Regions from separate parts of the Homo sapiens genome. Here region 1 is linked to region 2. Evidence: promoter capture Hi-C in human tissues and cell types (Jung and others, 2019). All regions are on one chromosome and are shown on one strand. Each heading gives the region's core, a stretch centred on a gene start or on the middle of the fragment in contact. The rest is flanking DNA. Distances are from core to core; before and after follow the strand shown. Region 1 holds the start of TXN2 (thioredoxin 2). Region 2 holds the start of RASD2 (RASD family member 2).

Region 1 (5,073 bases), core at 1,981-4,480, 940 kb after region 2:
GAATGCTCACTACACCAGGAGGCCAAGACAGTTCCACCTTTCACAAACCCCTGGCTGACAACTCCTATTTTATTCTCAGCACTTACTTATTTATTTTTGAGATGGAGTCTCACTCTGTTGCCCAGGCTGGAGTGCAATGGCGCGATCTCGGCTCACTGCAACTTCCGCCTCCCGGGTTCAAGCAATTCTCCTGCCTCAGCCTCCTGAGTAGCAGGTGTGGTGGTGCACACCGCACCCAGCCAGGCCTGACGGTTTTAAATGCTGAAAAATAGGCCGGGCATAATGGCTCACACCTGTAATCCTAGCACTCTGGGAGGCCAAGGCGGGAGAGAATCACCTGTGGTCAGGAGTTTGAGAGACTAGCCTGGCCAATATGGTGAAACCCCGTCTCTACTAAAAATACAAAAAAATTATCTGGGTGGTAGTCCCAACTACTTGGGAGGCTGAGGCAGGAAAATTGTTTTAACTCGGGAGGTGGAGGTTGCAGTGAGCTGACTGAACCACTGCAGTCCAGCCTGGGTGACAGAATGAGACTCTGTCTCAAAAACAAAAAAGGAAAAAAAACCCTCAGGCCTGGCGCAGTGGTTCATGCCTGTAATCCTAGCACTTTGGGAGGCCAAGGTGGGAGGATTGCTTGAGATCAGGAGGTAGAGACTGCAGTGAGCCGTGATCGCACCACTGCACTCTACATTCTAGCCTGGGTGACAGAGTGAGACCTTGTCTCTAAAAGAAGAAAAACAAAAACAACTCATAACACTGAAAAACCCAGTGTGCAAGACCTTATCTCCTATTACAAGTGAAGAAAGGGAGCACAAAGATATCAAGTGGCCTGCCCAAGGCCACAGGGTGAGTCAGAGAAACAACTGGAAAGCCAGCGAAACAATCTGTCAGAGACCTGACCAGAAGGCCCTTCAATTTCTTTTTCTTTTTTTTTTTTTTTGAGATGGAGTTTCCCTCTGTCACCCAGGCTGGAGTGCAATGGCGCGATCTCAGCTCACTGCAACCTCCACCTCCCAGGTTCAAGCGATTCTCCTGCCTCAGCCTCTTGGGTAGCTGGGATTACAGGTGCCCGCCACCACGCCCGATTAATTTTTGTATTTTTGGTAGAGATGGGGTTTCACTATGTTGGCTGGGCAGGTCTCAAACTCCTGACCTCAGGTAATCCACCTGCCTCGGCCTCTGAAAGTGCTGGGATTACAGGTGTGAGCCACTGCGTCCGACCTGAAGGCCCCTGAATTTTTAACTTATGCTACACTGGTTTCTCCCAGGATGCCTCATTCAGAGGGCTTTGTCCAGCTTTTGTGTAGTTGGGTGTCTAGCCAGGCCCCAAAGATCTAGAAATGAAAAAGCCCAGGCTAAAATTCAGAAGGCCAGAGGGACTTAAATATCTCTAAAGCAAACTCAGATAGCACTGAAAGGAAACTCCTTCCTATGCCCTGTATGCTTGGGCACCACGGTAGTGACACCGATAACTTTTTTTTTTTTTTTTTGAGATGGAATTTCACTCTTTTTGCCCAGGCTGGAGTGTAATGGCGCGATCTTCAGCTCACTACAAACACTACCTCTTAGGTTCAAGTGATTCTCCTGCCTCAGCCTCCCGAGTAGCTGGGATTACAGGCACACACCACCACGCCTAGCTAATTTTGTATTTTTAATAGAGACAGGGTATCACCATGTTGGCCAGGCTGGTCTTGAACTCCTGACCTCAGGTGATCTGCCCGCCTTGGCCTCCCAAAGTGCTGGGATTACAGGCATGAGCCACCGCACCCGGCCGACACTGATAACTTTTTGCCAGCCCTTCTTGCGGTTTTCATGGCAGGATGTTAACATCAGCTTATCTGCAGGGCCAGGAACTGGTATACACCAAAAGCAAGGTGACAGTCATATTTTTCCAACTCTGGTCCATGCTAAAGATGACGCTGAGCTTTCTGGGGATTGAGAAACAGAACATGTGTTTCCCAGCACTAACAGTCAGCTTTGCAGACTGTTCACTTGTCTGTCTTCCACCAGACTGCATTCCCCTTGAGGGCAGGGACTGGGCCTGACCAGTCTGTATATTGAGTCTACATATGAGCAGCATAGAACATGGCCGTGGGACACAGCAGGCATTCAATAAATACTTGAACAAGTAGGACCCTAGTCTTCTGTGGACCCCCAATACTCACTGTGCGTGGAAATCCACAACCACTGGTGTCTCACTGTTGACCACTCGGTCTTGAAAGTCAGGTCCATCCTGGATATTAAAGGTTGTCAAGGAGATCCTCGTGGTGTATATTGTCCGGGCTGGGTTGGGTGTTACAGTCAGGCCACCAGGACTGCATTGTGGGGTCTGCAGGGCTCTGGAAGTGAGGGGTGGCCACTGACCCTGAGAGGGCTTCCTGGAGATGACAGAGGCCAGGAACCTCCTCAGAAGAAGTCGCTGAGCCATCTGTGAGGGAAAGAGGCAGAAGAACTGGGGCACACAAAAGGAAGTCGACACACTAGAAAAAGATTTGGGGAGTACTCAGGGCTCAGGAAGAGGCAGAGTTGGAAGCAAAATGCAAGGAAATCATATGTAAGATTTGTAGCGTGGAAGTGAGGAAGCAATGAGAATCAAAGGGAAGGAACAGCTAGGCAAACCAGAAGGACAGGAAAACTGGCTTCACAACCAAAAAGAAATCGGGATTTAGATTATAACGGAAGAATGGGAGGAAGAAACCAACAGATTTAATAATGTATGTAAGGACCAAGTACCTTACACACATTATTGGTCTTCCTACAGCAACTTCCAGGAAGTTGCTATTGTACTGCCCACACTGCGAGTAAGGGAAGGAATACGAGGCTCAAGTAAGTTAAGTGACATGCCCAAAGTAACCCCGCTATTAAATGACAGCCAACACTGGAACCCAGGGTCGTCTGAAAAGATGAAACGCAACAATTCAAGGAGGAACTAAGAGTGTGAGAGGAACCAAAAACGAAGAGACATGTACTGGAGGGAACCAATAAAGAAGGGACATGTGTGGAGGGAACTGGGAAAAATCGGACATCACCAGGGACCCTGGCTCTCCGGCGAGCTAGATCCCCCCGCCCGCCCGGCCGCCAGCCTGCGCAGGAACGCGCTCGCGGCATGCCTCAGCCGCGACACCACCTCGAGCCACCCCCACAGGGCTCCTACCTCCCTGCAATGCGAGCGGAGGGATGCACAGCCTAGCCCTCCCTGCCTGTCAAGGGCACGCCTGTCGTCACTTCCTCGGGGGGGGACGTACATAACGTCACTTCCGGGTACAGGCAGGCGGAAGAGCGTCCCTCTCCAATTTTTTTTTTTTTTTTTTTTTTTTTTGAGCCAGAGTCTCGCTCTGTTGCCAGGCTGGGGTGCAGTGGCGCGATCTCGGCTCACTGCAACCTCCGCCTTCCGGGTTCAAGCGATTCTCCTGCCTCAGCCTCCCGACTAGAGGCGCGCGCCACCACGCCCAGCTAATTTTTTTATTTTTAGTAGAGACGGGGTTTCACCACGTTGGCCAGGACGGTCTCGATCTTTTGACCTCGTGATCCGCCCGCCTCGGCTTCTCAGAGGGTTGTGATTACGGGCGTGAGCCACAGCGCCCATCTGTCCCTCTCCAATTTGAGGGGCGTCTGGGATTTTCCGCCAATGGGAATGGCGGGCTGAGGCACAGTTGAAGGGGCGGGGCCTCAGCTACGGACCGGAAGCAATGGGCAGGCCGTCGGGGAACGGATTGGAAGAGGCGGGCGGGCCCTGGTCTGGGCGAAGGCGGGGGCGGGGCGGGGCGGAAACGGAAGGGGTGGGCGGGCCCTAGAGGAGGGACCGGAAGAGGAGGTGATGGAGCAGGGGTAGCAATGGAGGGTACTTAAGGGAGAAAAGGCAGTTGAGAAGTCCCCGTGGTTTTGGATTTTGCAAACTCTTGTTGCTTTATTTTATTTACATATATTTATTTATTAATGACAGAGTCTCGCTCTGTCTCCCAGGCTACAGTGCAGTGGCGTGATCTCCGCTCACTGCAACATCCAAATCCCGGGTTCAAGTGATTTTCCTGCCTCAGCCTCCCAGGTAGCTGGGATTACAGGCGCGCGCCACCACGCCGGGCTGATTTTTGTATTTTTAGTAGAGACGGAGTTTCGCCATGTTGGCCAGGCTGGTCTGGAACTCCTGAGCTCAAGTGATCCGCCCGCTTCAGCCTCCCAAAGTGCTGGGATTACAGGCGTGAGCCACCTTGCCTGGCCTCCTGTTTATAACTGGCGCTGTCCACTTCCTACAGATGTTGACAGGTTCTGTTTCTCCATTTAATATGTAAAGCTAAGCTCCTCAAAGGCATGATGCCCTTTATATGTAAAAGAACTCAACCGGGAGTTTAGGGGCCATCCTTTAAGTGGCCCTCGTCTGTGTCCGCCTAAAGGAAAACAAATGAAAACTGAGGCGAGCCTAATTTAAGCAGGGAGTTTTTTTGGGTCAAGTTCGAAGACTGCAACTCGGAGCAGAGATTCAAGTTGTCCTGAATATACACTCGGATTAGCAGCAGCTGAAAGAGCGTTTTTAAAAGAACAGGCAGTTTCCAAATTGTTGATCAAAGTTTTTTTTTTTTTTTTTTTTTTTTTTGAGACAGAGTCTCGCTCTTGTTGCCCAGGCTGGAGTGCAGTGGCGCGATCTCGGCTCACTGCAACCTCTGCCTCCTGGGTTCAAGGGATTCTTCTCCCTCTGCCTCCCCAGTAGCTGGGACTACAGGCGTGCCTCACCACGCCTAGCTAATTTTTATATTTTTAGTAGAGACGGAGTTTCACCATGTTGGCTAGGATGGTCTCGATCTATTGACCTCATGATCTGCCCACCTGGGCCTCCCAAAGTGCTGGAATTACAGGCGTGAGCCACTGCACCCAGCCTTTTTTTTTTTTTTTTTGAGACGGAGTCTTGCTCTGTAGCTAGGCTGGAGTGCAGTGGCATGATCTTGGCTCACCGCAACCTCCACCTCCAGGGTTCAAGGGATTCTCCTGCCTCAGCCCCCCAAGTACTTGGGATTACAGGCGAGCACCACCACACCTGGCTAATTTTTTATATTTTTGGTACAGAAATTTTATATTTCA
Region 2 (4,877 bases), core at 1,310-3,809:
CAAGATTTTATATCTTAAGCAATGGGGAGCCCTTGAAAACTCTTGAGCAGGAGGTGGCAGTTTTAGAACAGGGCTAAAATGGTCACAGGTTATATGGGAGAGAGAGGGTGACAGGGAGCCCAGGGACGAAGGGGGCAGCTATGACAAAGGGTCTGATGAGGGATGATAAAGCAAGTGGGTGGGGAGGGGGGAAGGGGAAAATAGGCACATGTGAGAAGTGTGCTGTTGCTACACAAAGCTTCCTTGGGCATCAGTTGATCCCTTATGTGTATTTGCTTATTGACTGAGCCCTACCATACCAGGAGTGGGGGAGGGCAGGAGCAGAAGACAGAGGCTGGGGCAAGTGGACCTCCCAGGGTTCTCACTCCACATGCAGCTCCCCTCGCGACTGGGATATGGTCAGTGGGACATGACCCATTCTGTTGAACAACTCTGCAGAAGCAGGGAGCAATTGGTTCTTGGGCCGTCTGCTACATTTCCGTGATGGAGGTGGCAGAGCTGGCCCAGCGACCTGAGTCTTCCTGACCCCAGCCTTCCAGGTGAAGCGTGCCACCCTGCTCACCTCCCACTGCCAAGTTCACTGCCAGCTCAAGGCTCACAGCCTGTGTGTGTCATGCCCAGCACAAACCCTCCCGGGCTGAAGCCAGTTCCCAGAGGCAAAGTCTGGATGTGGAAAATGCACCAGGCTGCAATCCTGCCACTTGCCACCAGGTGACTTTGGGCACATCCCCTTAGCCCCTCTGTGGCCTAAATTGGGGCATTAAACACAATCAGGTAGTACAGGTACTGCACCCTCCACCCCCACCTGCCCCATCCTCTCTGGTTAACTTTCCTGGAGAATCTCAAGATGTTACAGAGACAAGCAAAGCAAGTCACTTTCCATATTCAAAGTCCCAGGCCATTTTAGTACTTCTGTCATTCTGTGGACCCATCAATATCATACCCATTTTAGAGATGGCACAACCAGGACCCAGAGACTTTTCATGACGGCCCAGGGTCAGATATCTAGGTAGTTACGGAGACAGGACTTGAACGCCAGTCTCTCAGCCAATGGAGCTGACCCCTCAGGTGCCCTCCCAGACCCCTGCGTCCTCTCATGAGGTAGGGAGGCCAGATCTGGGTTGGGGGTGAGGCTGGCAGACATCCCTGAGGTCCAGGGATCTGGAACTGAGGGACACAGACACAGCATCCCATCCCTTTGCTGTATCACACAACGAGAACATTCTCTTTTAAGCCTCCTGATATGTGAAGGAGAAAGTCTCTGTTAGGTGCTAATGGGTATTTAACACCTCTCCAAACCTTGCCAATCTCCCTTTTTCACTGAGGGCACACATCTCAAGCCTTGGCAGGCCACGGTTTCCAGCTGGAATTTAATAACCTTGCTTTGTTTTCACTGTGCTTATTTTAACTCTTACTTTCTATTTATGGCAAGTGATACTGATTTCCCATTTAAGGCAGTGATATAATGATTCTCTAAAAAAACGTGTTTAAGGGGTGGGGAAAGTGGATCTGATATTTTAAAAAATATATTAAGTAATAAGTGGTGTGGAGATATGGCCCAGTGAGAAGGCCCGATGTCTGGCCTAGGTCAAGCCCCTCATTTAAAGGTGGGGAGGGAGAATGCAGGCAGGAGACGCAATGCTCAAGGCACCTGGTGTGTCCCCGTCGGCCGTGGTCTCTGAGACTCGCATGCCTCGAAGACCTCTGGCTACTAAGCCTAGGTGACTCCCCGCCCCTCTGGGCGACACGTGCATGGCCCATGTGCCAGTCCGCAGGGTCCCGTGGGCACCGTGAGCTCGGGAGGGAGGCGGCGGCTGGGACAGGCAGGTTGGACACCTGGGAGGGCACCCGGGGACTTCCGCGAAGGAGGAGGGCGCTGGAACCGTGGCGCGCTCGACCTGGCCGGGCGCAAGCCGCTGGAGACCCCGGCCGAGTGGGCAGGCGGCCGGACCCCATGCGGGTCACCTGCGGCCAGGCCGGGCGTGCGTGTGAGCGCGTGCGCAGACGTCAGCCTCCGAGGCCCGGGCCGCCTTCTGGGCAAGGTGCGCGCGCCCAGCGGCCCCGGCCCCACGCGCCCGGACACGCGGAACCGCAGACCGCGGCGCCCCGGAGGCCGCGAAAGGGATGGGCGGGGCCGGGCCGCGGGACCCGCCTCCCATTGGCCGGGCGCCGGGGCGAGGCGGGGCGCCGGGGTGGGGCGGGGCGAGCGGGCTCTGGGGGGCAGACGCTGGCGCTGGGCGGCGGGAGGCGCGGCTCGCGGGGGGCCGAAGGAGCAGGTGGGCGACGCTCGCAGGGGCGCGGGAGGGTGCCGCTGGGACCGTCATCAGGAGCCTGGGGTTCTGCCACCTTTCGGAGGGATCAGCGACCTCTTCGCCCTGCGGGTGACAGTGGGGCATCTGCCTGCGAGAGGGGGAAGGAGGGAGAACCCAGGGCCACACACAAAGTTCTCCTCATCTGGGGACAGGAGGAGGTGAAGGAGGAGGAGCCGGGTTGATGCTAACTTGGAGCTGCGAAACCTTGGGGCGGCGTTCAAGGCCCCCTCCCACACGCGCGCAGAGCAGAGCGCCCTGCTCCTCCTTCAGCTGCTGGCGTCGCCGCGCGGGGAGAAAGAAGCCGTCCCTCCGGCGCTGGGAGAGCTGCAGAGCCGCGGGCAGAGAAGGAGGCCGCGGCCGAGCCCGGCAGCCCGATACCCCCCATCCGAGCGACCCCCTTTGGGGCAGGCGGAGAAGGTGGCATAGGCGACCAGGAGGGTTCGCCCACCTGGGACACGCACCCACAGTCACCTCCAAAGGACCCCCCCTCCCCAAGTCTCTAGGAGCTGCTCCTTCATCACTGGAGTCGCCCCTACCTCTCTGCCCCCAGCCCGAGAGCCCCAGGCGGGGACCCCCGGATCGGACGTCCCCAAGCCTCCGGGCACCTGGCTCAGCAGGAGGCCCCCGGCTCGGGGCAGGGCAGGGCCGGCGGCGGCGAGCCGGAGCCCGCCCCCTGCCCGGGCCCCGCCGAGCCCTCGGAGCCCACCCATGGGGCACCTGCCCCTTGCGCCTCCTTGCCCGGCCGCGCCCAGCCCGGCGTCCCGAGCAGCGCAGGGGAGGATCCCCGCGCAGTGACCCGGGAGCCACCACAGACTCTGGGAGGCTCGGCGGCTGGAGCAGCAGGCAGCTCCCCGCAGCTCCCGGCGCTTCCAGGCAGCTCTCTGAGCCGTGCCAGAGGCCCGGCCCGCCATTCCCAGGTAGGAGACGCCCCAACAGAGCTGGGCATCTGGGGGAAGTGGAGCAGCCGGGAAGAAAGGGTAGAGGCTTGGAGGAGGAAAGCTCAGTGATTCCTTAGATGACCAGAGAAAGTGAAATTGATTGAGCACCTACTATGTGCCGGGATCGTCTGGCAACTTTGCATACCTAGAGAGAATTAAATTCGTTGAGCACCTACTGTATGTGTCAAACTGAGTGCTATACCCTTGACTTAATCCCAGGAAAGAAAGATTTATTGAGCTTCTACTATGTGCTAGTTTTGGTGCCACAGGCTTTGCATTTAAAGAGCTAGAGTAATAGCCCATTTAAATAGGAGGAAACGGGGGCTCAGGGAAGACGAGTCAACTACCACAAACACTCCTGTCCCTCTTCTGGAGCTGGCTGCAGCCTGCATTACCTGGAGGTGGGGAAGGAAGATTAAGAAGCTCCTTCGTTATCCAGAGTTCTTGAGCTTTTTCTGGGTTGGTGCAGAGTGAGTTTCCTGGATGATTCCCTTCCCAGGAGGGGTTTCCTGTAACTTAGCTGTCTTGGAGGGCCCGGAAGGCAGCTCTGGAGGCCTCTCTGTGCCCTCCCCTCCCCTTGTCCCCAGCACCAGGAGGATGACAGGGGATGTTGTCCAAGACCTCATGGAAGGTGGGAAGCCAGGCTGGGAGGGAGCAGCCAGGTCAGGAGCCAGTGAATCAAGCCTCCTGTGGTGTCAGAGACAAGATGGGGTCCCTGCAAGACCTGCGCCTGCATTCCAGTCCAGCCTCACCAGGCTGCTCTAGGCAGCCCCACGACTGCCAAGATAAAGTGCCACGAAGAAAAGAACCCAGCATGTGTTCAGGTTTGCTGCGGGTCAAGAGCTGGGTCAGCCTCCAGACTTATTGGAAACCCAGGGCCACACAGGGGGTTTATGTCTTACCATTAACAGAGGAATAACCTGAGCCCCAGGAAGCCAAGTCATTTGCCCAGGGCTGCCGGGCTGGTGAGAGGCAGAGTTGGCCTGCCAGAAGTGGATGCCTGCCTACCTTCTACCACCTGAGCTGCCAAGGGTGGTGGGGTTGGCTTTGCCAAGCTCCCGGACTCTCAGAGTGGCAGCTGGAAGCCAGTGATGGCAATGTGCGTGTCCAAAGAGGCTGAGTGTGCACTGATGGAGGAGGCATGGGGGTGTGGAGGAGGGGCAGTGCAGTGAAACAGGCTCTGGGGCATACACCGGGAGGACACGTCCAGACTCTTGTCCTGCTGCCTGTGCCCGTGTGACCCCTTCATCTTTCAGGCAGGCCCTGGGAGAGAGGCTCAAGGGAGAAGTGGTGAATCCACAGGTGCACTTGCTCAGAGGTGGCTGGCAGGGTTAGGGGAGAATCCTGGGAGGTGCCTGCCCCCTTTCCGCTCCGCTGCCTGCAGGGAGAGAGGGAGTGAGAATATAGTATGTCTCGGCGTCATCCCCCCGCCTGATGCCAGCTGAGGCTTCACTGAGACAGACAGTGTTTTGGAAAAGACCAGTTTTGGCTGGGGGTGGGTTTTCATAGAGTTAAGAGCCCAGACTTTGAAGCCAAACAGCCTGGTTCTGATCCCAGCCCAGCTAGTCATCTGCTGTGTGAACTGGGGCAAGTGACTTAACCTCTCTGAGCATCAGTGTCCCCATCA

Evidence for each region. Contacts are between HindIII fragments. The study calls those that stand out against the background at their distance.
Region 1: a contact is called between the fragment with the promoter of TXN2 here and the fragment with the promoter of RASD2 in region 2, in 3 of the 25 tissues and cell types used here (aorta, dorsolateral prefrontal cortex and stomach).

The regions. Positions count from the first base shown.
Region 1 is chr22:36,478,410-36,483,482 of GRCh38, forward strand. It overlaps TXN2 (thioredoxin 2), which reads right to left and starts at 3,231. Exons shown (of 4, transcript NM_012473.4): 1 at 3,155-3,231; 2 at 2,166-2,428. The coding sequence starts at 2,428. RefSeq lists an enhancer at 3,661-4,607. The HindIII fragment of the contact is 22,621 bases long and covers 1-5,073 here.
Region 2 is chr22:35,538,272-35,543,148 of GRCh38, forward strand. RASD2 (RASD family member 2) reads left to right here and starts at 2,560. Exons shown (of 3, transcript NM_014310.4): 1 at 2,560-3,229. RefSeq lists enhancers at 1,222-1,784, 1,785-2,347, 2,348-2,910 and a silencer at 2,032-2,251. The HindIII fragment of the contact is 17,894 bases long and covers 1-4,877 here.